Regions from separate parts of the Homo sapiens genome. Here region 1 is linked to region 2. Evidence: promoter capture Hi-C in human tissues and cell types (Jung and others, 2019). All regions are on one chromosome and are shown on one strand. Each heading gives the region's core, a stretch centred on a gene start or on the middle of the fragment in contact. The rest is flanking DNA. Distances are from core to core; before and after follow the strand shown. Region 1 overlaps LOC105372263 (a long non-coding RNA gene). Region 2 holds the start of PCP2 (Purkinje cell protein 2).

What was found. Contacts are between HindIII fragments. The study calls those that stand out against the background at their distance.
Region 1: a fragment that was not itself captured here is called in contact with the fragment with the promoter of PCP2 in region 2 in 1 of the 25 tissues and cell types used here (lymphoblastoid cells).

Annotation. Positions count from the first base shown.
Region 1 is chr19:7,781,377-7,788,000 of GRCh38, reverse strand. LOC105372263 (a long non-coding RNA gene) reads right to left here. Exons shown (of 5, transcript XR_001753858.2): 5 at 2,817-4,505. It also overlaps the pseudogene CLEC4GP1. Among named protein-coding and RNA genes, the nearest start is that of CLEC4M, 21 kb to the right of the region's middle. The HindIII fragment of the contact is 6,477 bases long and covers 920-6,624 here.
Region 2 is chr19:7,631,078-7,636,271 of GRCh38, reverse strand. It overlaps PCP2 (Purkinje cell protein 2), which reads left to right and starts at 2,553. Exons shown (of 4, transcript NM_174895.3): 1 at 2,553-2,865; 2 at 3,442-3,556; 3 at 3,755-3,879; 4 at 4,464-4,657. The coding sequence starts at 2,815. The coding sequence ends at 4,583. PET100 (PET100 cytochrome c oxidase chaperone) reads right to left here. Exons shown (of 4, transcript NM_001171155.2): 4 at 4,316-4,799. The coding sequence ends at 4,716. It also overlaps a transcript of STXBP2 not described here. The HindIII fragment of the contact is 8,717 bases long and covers 1-3,461 here.

The DNA of each region.
Region 1 (6,624 bases), core at 2,909-5,408, 150 kb before region 2:
CTCCCCATTGAGGGTCACTCACCCTTGGACAATAGGATACTCAGAATCACAGCCCACAGTACTGGCGACCAGGACAGCCATGGCCAGGAAGAGGGGTCTCGGGCTCCAGTGCACCCAGCGTCCCCAGTGCCCTGGCAGAACAAGGACGGCATGCTGGGTCCCCCAGGACTGAGCCCTAGAGGCCTGGGTTCCTCTCAGGAAACTGAGTTTCAGAGAGGTTAAGTAACTTGCCTATGGTCACACAGCTTCTAAGTGGCAGAGTTGGAATTGGCCCCTGGTCCAACTGGCTCTGTGTTGTTTTTTTTGCACCCACGACTCTGGCCCGTCTTGGCTCTTCCCTCCCCTCCCCCATCAAACCCCAGACACCGGGGCAGGGATGGGGCAGTCTCCTTGCTCATACCTCCGGGGACCTCCTCGTAGCTCCCGCCCCAGTTGCTGTACCTGGTGGTGTCTATGGCGGTGCAGGCACCGAGACCTGGGCAGAGATATAAATTTCACCCTCGTCCTCACTGGACCTACGCACTCCCTTCCTTCCTTCTCATTTTCTTGGCCTGGATTCCTGGCAACAGGGACCCAAGGACAAATCACAGGGTTGGACCAATCACAGGGTTGGGCCCTTTCTGGGCTGGGCTGGGCTGAGCTGGGCTCGGGGTGAGGTAGTTCCAGCTTCCCGGTCCTCGTCGCTGCAGCTCCATCCCCAGGCTGGTGCTGGAGGCTTCTCTTTGGAGCTTGGACCCCTCTCTTATGGGCCTGGGGCTGGGTTTCCGCCTGAGAGGGACACACTGGACCCGACCAAATTGTAACCCCTGCTGGCTCCTGAGAAAGCCCCCAAGGCGTAGCTCCCCAGGCCAGTTCAGGTCCCTCCTCAGAGGCTGGGTCTGAACCTGACCTTGATTCACTCCCTCTGTGCCAGAAGAGAGCAAACAGAGGTTTTGTTGAGGAGGTGGTCTGCTGAGCTGCAGGACTCTACCACTTGGTGGGTGGCGGATGGGGCTGTGCAGTGTGTAGCTTCAGGAAGCCTCAACTTTCTTTTTCTTTTTTTCTTTTGAGACAGAGTCTCCCTTTGTTGTCCAGGCTGGAGTGCAGTGATGCAATCTCGGCTCACTGCAACCTCCGCCTCCCAAGTTCAAGCGATTCTCCTGCCTCAGCCTCCCAAGTAGCTGGGATTACAGGTGCGTGCCACCACGCTTGGCTAATTTTTGTATTTTTAGTAGAGATGGGGTTTCACCGTGTTGGACAGGCTGGTCTCGAATTCGTGACCTCAGATGATCCGCCTTCCTTGACCTCCCAAAGTGCTGGGATTACAGGTGTGAGCCACGGCGGCCAGCCTAGAAGCCCCAGTTTTCTTTTACCAACCCTGAAAAGAGTACAGTGACGGGGCTTCTCTCAAAGAAACACCGAGAAACAATGAAGTTACGCATGTCTACCCAGAACCATCTCAGGTTCATCAAAAACTCTCAATGTTCATGCATTCTTTCAACAAACATTGAATACCTGCCATGTGCCAGGTATTTTAAAATATTATAACCAGCCGGGCGCGGTGGCTGACGCCTGTAATCCCAGCACTTTGGGAGGCTGAGGTGGGCGGATCACGAGGTCAGGAGATCGAGACCATCCTGGCTAACAAGGTGAAACCCCGTCTCTACTAAAAATACAAAATATTAGCCGGGCATGGTGGCGGGCGACTGTAGTCCCAGCTACACGGGAAGCTGAGGCAGGAGAATGGCGTGAACCCGGGAGGCGGAGCTTGCAGTGAGCCAAGATCGCGCCACTGCACTCCAGCCTCGGGGACACAGCGAGACTCCACCTCAAAAAAAAAAAAATATTATCACCTACATAGAGGAATAAATGTAAAGATTGCAACTACGAAGAGCATTTGCACAGAGTGATTACATTACTAAAATTAATAGAAACAACAAACTAGAAAGTTAATGAAAAATAAAGCCTCTAAAATAGCAACTCAAATTATCGTGTATCTAAGAATCAATAAAGAATGCACCAGAGGCCAGGTGCGGTGGCTCATGCCTGTAATCCCGGCCTTTTGGGAGGCTGAGGCGGGTAGATCGCTTGGGCCCAAGAGTTCAAGACCAGCCTGGGCAACATGGTGAGGCCCTCCTCTCTACAAAAAATACAAAAATTAGTCAAATGTAGTGGCATGCGCCTGTAGTCCCAGCTACTCTGAAGACTGAGGTGGGAGGATCACTTGAGCCCAGGAGTTCGAGGCTCCAGGCTGTAGTGAGCTATGATAGTGCCACTGCACTCTAGCTGGGTAATAGAGGAAGACTGTAAAATAAAAATAAAAAAAATGCACAGGACATATCTGCAGAGAAAAAAATTTAAATTCAATTAGAGAATACTGTAAAAAGGATTTGGATAAAGATAGCTAATGTTTCCAGAGGTCAGAAGAATTAACATAAAAGGGCCAGCCAGGCGCAGTGGCCCACATGTGTAATCCCAGCACTTTGGGAGGCTGAGGCAGGTGGATCACCTGAGGTCAGGAGTTCGAGACCAGCCTGGCCAACATGGTGAAACCTCGTCTCTACTAAAAATACAAATTAGCCAGGCGTGGTGGGCGCCTGTAATCTCAGCTACCCTGGAGGCTGAGGCAGGAGAATTGCTTGAACCGGGAGGCAGAGGTTGGTTGCAGTGAGCTGAGATTGTGCCACTGCACTCCAGCCTGGGTGACAGAGCAAGACTCTGTCCCAAGAAACAAAACAAAAAACAAAACAAAACAAACAAAGAAACACCCACACACAAAAATCAATTGAAAAATGGGCCAGGGGAATGAAAAGGCAATTCATAGAAGAAGCCAAAGATTGAGCACATATTTCAGGAAAGTTTAATGTCTACTTAATTGTAGAAAAAATAATGAGGTACAACCTTATACCAATTAAAATGCAACCATTAAAAAGATGCATAGTATTAAGTGTTGGTGAAGATGTGAGGAAGTGGGAACTGTTGCTCACTGCTGGTGGAAGTATAAATTAGTTCAGTAATTTGGAAAACAGTCTGGAAGTATGTAGTGAAATACAGGTGGCATATACCCTCTGATATTTTAAAAAGAGATACTTTTTAGAGAAGGTTTCTCCAAGGGCATTTACAAGGATGTTCAACACAGTGTTGTTTACAGTAGCAGAGTTGGGGGTAACCTACAAGACCCTGAGCAGGCAAAGAGTAAGTAAAGTGTAGTGAGTACACACATGAAACAAATCGTAATCAACTAGTTGTACAGGCAGCAGCAGTCCAGATTCTTAGTAGCCTAGAGCTGGGAGAAGCAGAAATGATTTGATTCAATAACACACACACACACACACACACACACACATACACACACACTCCAAGTATGTATAAATATTAAGGATATGACTTCACTACTATGAAATCTATGCATGCAACAAAATTACACCTGTACCCCATAAATTTATAGCAATAAGAAAGGCAAATGTAAGCATATTTTCCTTAAAAAACTAATGTAAGGGCATGTATCAAACACATCAGAATGGATGTCTATGGTACAGAGGGAGGAGGAAGGGTTAAACATTAAAAGTTAGCAGTGCTTAGGAGACGCTGAAGGGTTAACAAAACTTAGCTTCCTAGACTCTTCTTTCTAGAAGTTCCCTTGTTCCCAAACCATCTGACTCATCTTGCTTTCATCATCAGAAACGGAGCGCTGAAAGCTGACTTAGCAGCAGGCTTAACCGTAGGGCAGGAACTTTTTGGAGGGCACGCCCTCTTCATTCTGAGGCTTTTAGGGACAGGTGCTCAAAGGGAGGAAATCAGAAAAACTGCAAGGATTGCACAATCTCTGTCCAGGGCAACCATAGGAATGTGTTCTGGGGAAAGGATTTAGATGGCAGTGTTTCATCAGACCTTATGGAGGAGATAGAGGCTCTGCTGGATACACCTGTGGCTGAAGCTGCCTTGGCGAGCCAGGGCGGAGCTGTCCAGCTTAGTGAGGAAGCCAGAAGGCTGCCCATCAATGTCCTGTGCCCAGACCTCGCTGCGGGGTAACTGAGAGCGGAAGAGAGGTCCTAGAAGGAGGCAGCAGACCTCCACATCTATCCCTGGCCCAGGACAAGGAAGGGAGGCCTGTTTCTCAGGCGAGTGGGGAACATGTAACCACGGAATTTGAAGACAATATGATGAGCTTGGGAAGTACAGGAGACTGTGAGGACCACTGGAGACACTGGCTGAGCCTGGAGGATCCGAGAGGGCTTCCTGGAGGAGGTGATGCTTGAGGAGGGAGTCAGAATTATTCCAGAGGAGATAAATAACATTAAAGAACGTTCTCAATACGGTATCAGCACATGCAAGAATAGAGGATAAGGGAACAGGTTGGAGAAGCTGAGACTAATTCAGGGGCAGTCATCTGGGGCTAGGGTGTCAGCTGGGTCACATCACACAAGGACCTGAAGAGCAGGGACAAGAGGTTTGGACAAATGTGGGAAGAAGGTGAAAGTCACAAGATTCAGCTCCAAGGCCATGACCACTCTGGTTTCCATTCTCTGCAGAGATGAGAGGGTTGCTGTAACCAGGGAAGCCAGCCCACTGCAAAGGGCATGTGGCACATTGGTTGTCGCTCTGAATTTTGGCTTTGCTTTTTTATTACGAAGCATGCAAAGAGGTTTGTAGAAACAAATATAAACGCTATGCCTTTCACTCGGCTTTTTCAAGTTTTGACATCTTCATGTATTTCAGATCACCTTAAAAGTAAAGCATCATTACGTAACAAATCATAACAAATAGAGTGGAGGTCCCTTGTACCCCACCCTGCTCCTATTCCCCTCCCCAAGGTAACTGCCCTCCCAAACTTGGTGTTTATCCTATTTAAAATAATTATGCATGTACCCAAGGACAATATTTTGGATTTTTTTTTTTTTGAGAAGAAGTCTCACTCTGTTACCCAGGCTGGAGTGCAGTGGTACGATCTCGGCTCATTGCAACGTCTGCCTCCCAGGTTCAAGCAATTCTTCTGTCTCAGCCTCCTGAATAGCTGGGACCACAGGCACACTCCCCCACACCTGGCTAATTTTTGTATTTTTAGTAGAGACGGGGTTTCACCATATTGGTCAGGCTGATCTTGAACTCCTGACCTCAGGTGATCCACCCACCTCAGCCTCCCAAAGTGTTGGGATTACAGGCATGAGCTGCCATGCCTGACCTATGCTGGTTTGTTTTGCACATCTGAAAACTTTACAGGAGTGTTACCACATGGTCTATATCCTTCCGTAACTTGTTTTTGTCCTCTCTACATTACATTTATGAGATATATCTATTCAATACCCATTATTCATTTAAAAATGAAGACAGGCACAAAAACTAAATGCTTAATAAAGAGAGAACAGAATAAAGCTTTCTTAATTTGAGAAGTGGTAATTTCTGGGATCCTACAGAAATATCTTACATAACACTAAAATATGAGAAACATTTTAGGTAAAATGAAGAACAAATAAAGATGTCCGTGGTTTAGTGGGTTGATTTATAGCTCCCAAAAAGACATGCTGAATGCCTAACCTCTGGTATCTGTGAATGTGACTTTTAAAATTGGGAAACACGGTCTTTTTTTTTTTTTTTTTTTTGAGATGGAGTTTCACTCTGTTGCCCAGGCTGGAGTGCAGTGGTAAGACCTCGGCTCGTTGCAACCTCTGCCTCCCGGGTTCAAGTGATTCTGCTGCCTCAGCCTCTTGAGTAGCTGGGATTACAGGTGTGTGTCACCACGCCCGGCTAATTTTGTATTTTTAGTAGAGACAAGGTTTCTCCATGTTGGTCAGGCTGGTCTCGAACTCCTGACCTTAGGTGATCCACCTGCCTCGGCCTCCCAAAGTGCTGGGATTACAGACGTGAGCCACTGTGCCCAGCCGAGAAATAGGGTCTTTGCTGATGTAACTACATTATGGTGAGGTCATGAGAGTGGTCCCTAATCCAGTATCACTATGTCCTTATATGAGGAGGAGAAAGGTACAGAGAGAAGATTATGTAAAACGGCAAGAGGGAAGAAAGCCACGTGACAAAAGAGGCAGAGAGTCGAGCAAAGGGTCTGCAAGCCAAGGAATGCCAAAGGTTGTCGGCAACTGTCACTGACCTTGATCCCTGTTGTAGTGAACAGAGGATGATAAATGCAGGAATAAAGATAAAGACAAAAAAGTATATTTGGAAAAAGGGGTCGGGGGCTTCTTGCTTCTACTGAACAAGGGCCCTGAGCTTTAAAGCCCTTCACATTTTATTGGGTAAATAAAAGTAAATAAAAGTCCTGGCGTTTTTTCCACTGAGGGGGGGGGTACTGCATTATAAGGTCCTCTCTGTCCTGAGATCTGGCGGCATTCTTTTTCAAAATGTCCAGTTTTTCCACAATTATAACATTTTCCCACTTGAGGGCTTAATCCTTGGCTCCTTTTAGATTTGTCAACTACTAAATCAGCCATTGCTTCCGCTAACATTGCAGAGCGATGAAGCTCAATTCCTACATCCTGACAAGCTCTGAGAAAATTTCCCAAGTTTTTAGTACACCTCACGGGTGCCAGTGCACGTTTACAATCTGCGTCTGCATTCTCAGAAGCTAAAGTTAAGGTTAGCGCCTCTGCGGCAGTGGCATGAGGAATCTGACACTTCACTGCCTCTCGTAAT
Region 2 (5,194 bases), core at 1,304-3,803:
GTGCGAGGTATGTGTGCAAACAGACTCTTGCTGGTCTGAGCTGGTTCCTTCGCTCGGCCGTGTTGATGAAGGTACCAAGCCCCCTGCCACTTACATGGGACATAGGGAGTGAATCAGACCCGAAGGTCTGGGGGAGATAGGAAAGGATCCATGCTGCCCTAAAGGAAATAAACTAATGTGACAACAAGTGCCACAGAAGGTAGGGGTGGGAGGGGACTTTACTGAGGATGACCCCCGAGGGCCTCTCTGAAGAAGCAGCCTTTTGACATTATCCCTAAATGGATTCTAGAAGCAGCCACACAGCATGTCCAGGTAGAGAAGGGAGGAGCCCCGAGCTTAAGAAGGCTGGAGGGTGGGGGCAGCAGGGGCCAGACTTCTGTAGGACAAGGTCAGACTGACCCATCCCAGTGCCAGGATGCAGGACTTTCAGTGCTAAAAATAGGACAGTCACAGGCAAACCAGGACGGTTGGCAACCGTAGGTAGGAGTTTGAGCTATTTCTTCCTTTCCTTTCCTTTTCCCTTCCTTTCTTCCTTCTTCTCCCTCCTCCCCATTTTTGTTTGTTTTTGTTTTGTAAAGAGACGGGTCTCGCTCTGTTGCTCAGGCTGGAGGGCAGTGGCACGATCATAGCTCACTGCAGCCTCGACTTCCTGAGCTCAAGGGATTCTTCCACTTCGGCCACCCAAGTAGCTGGGACTACAGGTGCACGCCACCGTGCCCGGTTGATTTTGTTGTTGTTGTTAAGAGACAGGATCTCCCTATGTTGCCCAGGCTGGTATCAAACTCCTGGGCTCAAGGGATCCTCCTGCCTTGGCCTCCCAAAGTGTTAGGATTTTAGGTATGAGCCACCGCACCCTGCCCCTTCCTCCTTTTGTAACAGCTTTACTGAGATATAATTCACATACCATACAACTCGCTGACCTAAGGTGCGTAAGTCAATGGCTTTCAGTATTTTTGGAGTTGTGTGTCCATTACCACAATCCATTTTAGAACATTTCCACAACCCCTAGGTGTTTGGGTTTTGTCTTCTCAAGAGTTTTGAGCAGGGGAAGGCGGGGAACCCTCCAGATCCTGGGGGGATGGAAGCCAGGACCGCCTCCAGCTTCTCAGCCTGACCCCTTGGGGGGACAGAGAGCTGTTAGGGCCAGCCACCCCACCACTAACCCCCAAAAGATATGAAGTACTAATCCCCAATACCCCACAATAGGATCTTATTTGAAATGGGGTTAGTATAGATATTAGCAGTGAGCATGAGGTCACACTGGAGTAGAGTAGGCCCCTAATGCAATATCACTGGTGTCCTTGTAAGATAGTTATATGTCTGCCTGGTTCTGTGTAGGTGGTTGGGGGGGTGGGGAAATGGGTATATGAAGACTGGGACACAGAGGGAGAATGCCATGTGACCACGGAGGCAGGGAGTGAAGAGCTGCAGTGACAAGCCAAGGACATCAAGGACGGCAGGCCACTGCCAAAAGCCAGGGAGGGGCAAGGAGGGCTCCTGAGACCTGGTTTTCAGAGGGAGCACAGCTCTGCCAACACCTTCATTTCAGGCTGTGGCCTCTGGAACGTTGGCTCAATAAATTTGTTAAAAAAAAATTTTAAAGGCTCAGCATGGTGGCTCATGCCTGTAATCCCAGCACTTTGGGAGGCCCAGGCAGGAGGATCACATGAACCCAGGAGTTTGAGACTAGCCTGGGCAAAATAGTGAGACCTCATCTCTATATAAAAATATATAACAAAAGTCAACTTATGTGTTTTAAGCCATCTGGTCTATGACACTTTGTTCTGGCAGGCCTAGGAAAGGGATACACGTACTGAGGAGGGGGACACTTCATTGGCATAGAGGGAGAGAGTGTGAACTTGGCCTTTTGTGGAACAGAGGAGGCTCGGGCAGAGGTGGTGATAGTGCAGCCCATTCATTCTGAGATGAAACTTCCACTGGTTTCCGTAAAGGCGTCTTGGGGAGGGAAGGGAAGGGGATGGGGACCTCCCAGTGGTATCCCCTGCTTGGGCACTGAGGGAAAGCCACAGTGGCTCGGGGGAAAAGGCAGGGACGTCCTCTCCCCGCCTGCCTCTGTCCCCAGGGAGTCTCGCCTCCTGTTCCCACCTGGGGCTAGGGTGATAGAGGAGAGGAGATAGCTCAACCTGGCATTTAGGTGGTGTGGGAACAGGAGACCCCAGACTTTCTTGTTTTGGGGTCTGGGGCAGGCAACCAGGCTCCAGGGACAGTGAGTTGAAGGAAGGGTGGCTGGGAGACCCCTTGACTTGCTGCCAAGGAGACAGAGCTGGAGCTAGGGTGGCCGGTGGTGTCTGAGGCAGGTGCAGAGAGGGAGGGAGGGAAGGGGCCTTTGACTCCAACCTCCTTTTTCTGTACCGACTGCAGGTGGCAGCTGCCCTTTCAGGAGCCAGTGGGGGAACCTGGGTGGCTGGGTGGGGACACCTGCAAGTCCTCCCTAAGCCAGCTACCACCCTACACTGTTGGCCTCCCTTCTCCAACTGTGGGGATGCTGCTCAGGCCTTTTGTGACATCACACCTGAGAGTCCCTGGGGTCCAGTCATTGCTGCTGGGCACAGCGAGGTCCAAGCTCAGGTCGCCCTGCCCCCTACCCACCATGCCAGATCCAGCATCGTTGTGGGCAAACAATTATCTGGATGATCTTTATGGGGCTTAAGCTTGGGTGGGAGCAGATGGGGCATGAGCTGGGGATTTGGGGATGGGGGGAATCCACACCCCCACGTCCTGGACGTTTAAAAGGCCCTCTCTGGCACTGGGCCGGGGCAGAGGCCAGCAGAAAAGTGACTGGAGTCCAGGGACATGATGGATCAGGAGGAGAAGACGGAGGAAGGCTCAGGCCCCTGTGCCGAGGTGAGAGGGCCCTGCCCCCACCCCACCCCCAGCTCAAGGTCTCAGAGCCCATGATTGACAAGACTAGTTTGTAGGGCACCTAATTAACGAGTGAGTCTCCTAGGACCCCCTGACCCAGTTGTGGCTGTAGAAAGGGGCTGGTGGGCTTGGGGGTCTGAGTGCCAGGCCCCAGGGCAGAGGGCAGGGCTCTCCGTGTGGACCCCTATTGATGGGAGATGCTGGGACCTGGGGGTAGCTCCTGGGCCATGTTTCCCTGATTCGTGTCCCAGCTCCCAGGCCACACTCATCAGGCCCCAATCTAGGACGGCGGGACACGCATCGGAGCCTGTCCCTTGAAGCGGTACCACGTGAAGTGGCACTGCTGGCCAGGGCCCCTGGGGCGGGGGCCGGGATTGGGAAGGAGACTCATGTCTCATTCAGAACAGCTCTGCAGAGAGGATCGGCGGGGACCATGGTGAGAGCTGAGGAAGTGGGGACGGCAGGCCCCGGGGTCAGGGTGTGAGCAAGCTGGCTAGGAAGTTTGGGGAGGGGCCCCCAAGCTGAAGGGCCAACCAGACTGAGCGAGTCTGTCCCCAGGCGGGCTCCCCAGACCAGGAGGGCTTCTTCAATCTGCTGAGCCACGTGCAGGGCGACCGGATGGAGGGACAGCGCTGTTCACTGCAAGCCGGGCCGGGCCAGACCACCAAGAGCCGTGAGCATGGGCACGGGGGTGCTGTCCATGGGGCGTGAACGGGGTGGGAGTGCAGGGCAAGTGGTCATCTGGAGGGCCTGGGGGCACGGGATGTGGGAGGTGGTTGTGCACCCTGAAGCATCTGTGTGGGGGTGAAGGGGTAGGGTTGGGGGCCCCCACTCCGGCTGTGTCCTCCCAAGTCTGTGAACGTCCACGCAGAGAGCGACCCCACCCCCGAGATGGACAGCCTCATGGACATGCTGGCCAGTACCCAGGGCCGCCGCATGGATGACCAACGTGTGACAGTCAGCAGCCTGCCCGGCTTCCAGCCCGTGGGGTCCAAGGTAGGTGATGTTCTGGCGATGTCGAGGAGAAACCCGCCAGGCAGTGCTCTCCGATCCTGCCCTCCACCCCAGCCAGGAGGGAACAGGGCCTGCCCCATCTCTGTCCATCCGCTGCCCTGACTTCAGATGGGAGGACCAAGGCCCAGGCAGTGGCTAGAGGGGCCCAAGGTTATACAGGGGCCATGCTAGTGTAAGACCCATGGCTGGAACTTGTGGCTCCTGCCCCCAAGTCTGAAGGTTCTGGGGAGGCCAAAGGGAGAAAATAGGACCCCTTCCTAGGAAAGTATCCCAGGGAGGAAGTCACGTAAGCTCACACATAGGATATATACATCTGTATACTCACATCTGTTGACTTCACACATACACGAAGCTTGGGTTCTGATCAAGATCCCAGCGAGGGCCCCAAGACCTGCCACCTCACACTCAAATGCCACCCTAAATGGCAGATATTGAGGGTAAACATAGACCAGTGCTCACAATGAGGTGGGACACGGTGGCTACCTGCACCCTCTCTCCATTGTTCGCCACCTGTGGCCGGCACTGCCCTTGAGCCCTCCCCCTGGCTGACCCCTCTTCATCCACAGGACGGAGCACAGAAACGAGCTGGGACCCTCAGTCCCCAACCCCTGCTCACCCCTCAGGACCCGACCGCTCTCGGCTTCCGTCGGAACAGCAGCCCCCAGCCCCCGACACAAGCCCCCTGAGGGCCTGAGGCATCCTGGGTCTCACTCGGCCCCCAAAAACTGATAAAAGAATAAAACACTTAAATGAATAACAAGGAACTGAGTATATGTATATTTCATCAGGGGAGGGGCTAGGACTCCCACTTGGAGGCCTCAGGAGTTCTGCTGGGCGTCGCGAAGGAGCTTCTCCTCCCGCCGCTTCCGTAACCTCTCTTTGAATTCCTCTATCTCTTGAAGCTAGGGGTGGAGAAGCGGGTGGGACAGGAAGGGGGGAGGGGCACACACCTCAGAGCCGGGACCACCCCCCCCCGCCCACCTCTCCCACCACCCTGCCCCAGACCACGGCTTCAGGGTTCAGTGTCTTCACTGGAAGCCCCCTGCCAATTACAAAGGGGTCCGCGTGGGATCCGCTTCACTCTTCCAGGAGAAGGCAATAAGGAAACCATCTACTCCTCTGCTCTCGGTTCCTTACTCATGGCTGAGAGTAAAATGTTTCTTTTTGAGACAAAGTCTCACTCTATTGCCCAGGCTGGAGTGCAGTGGCGTGATCTTGGGCTCACTGCAACCTCCACCTCCTGGGTTCAAGTGATTCTTCTCCCTCAGCCTCCCAAGCAGCTGGAATTATAGGCGCC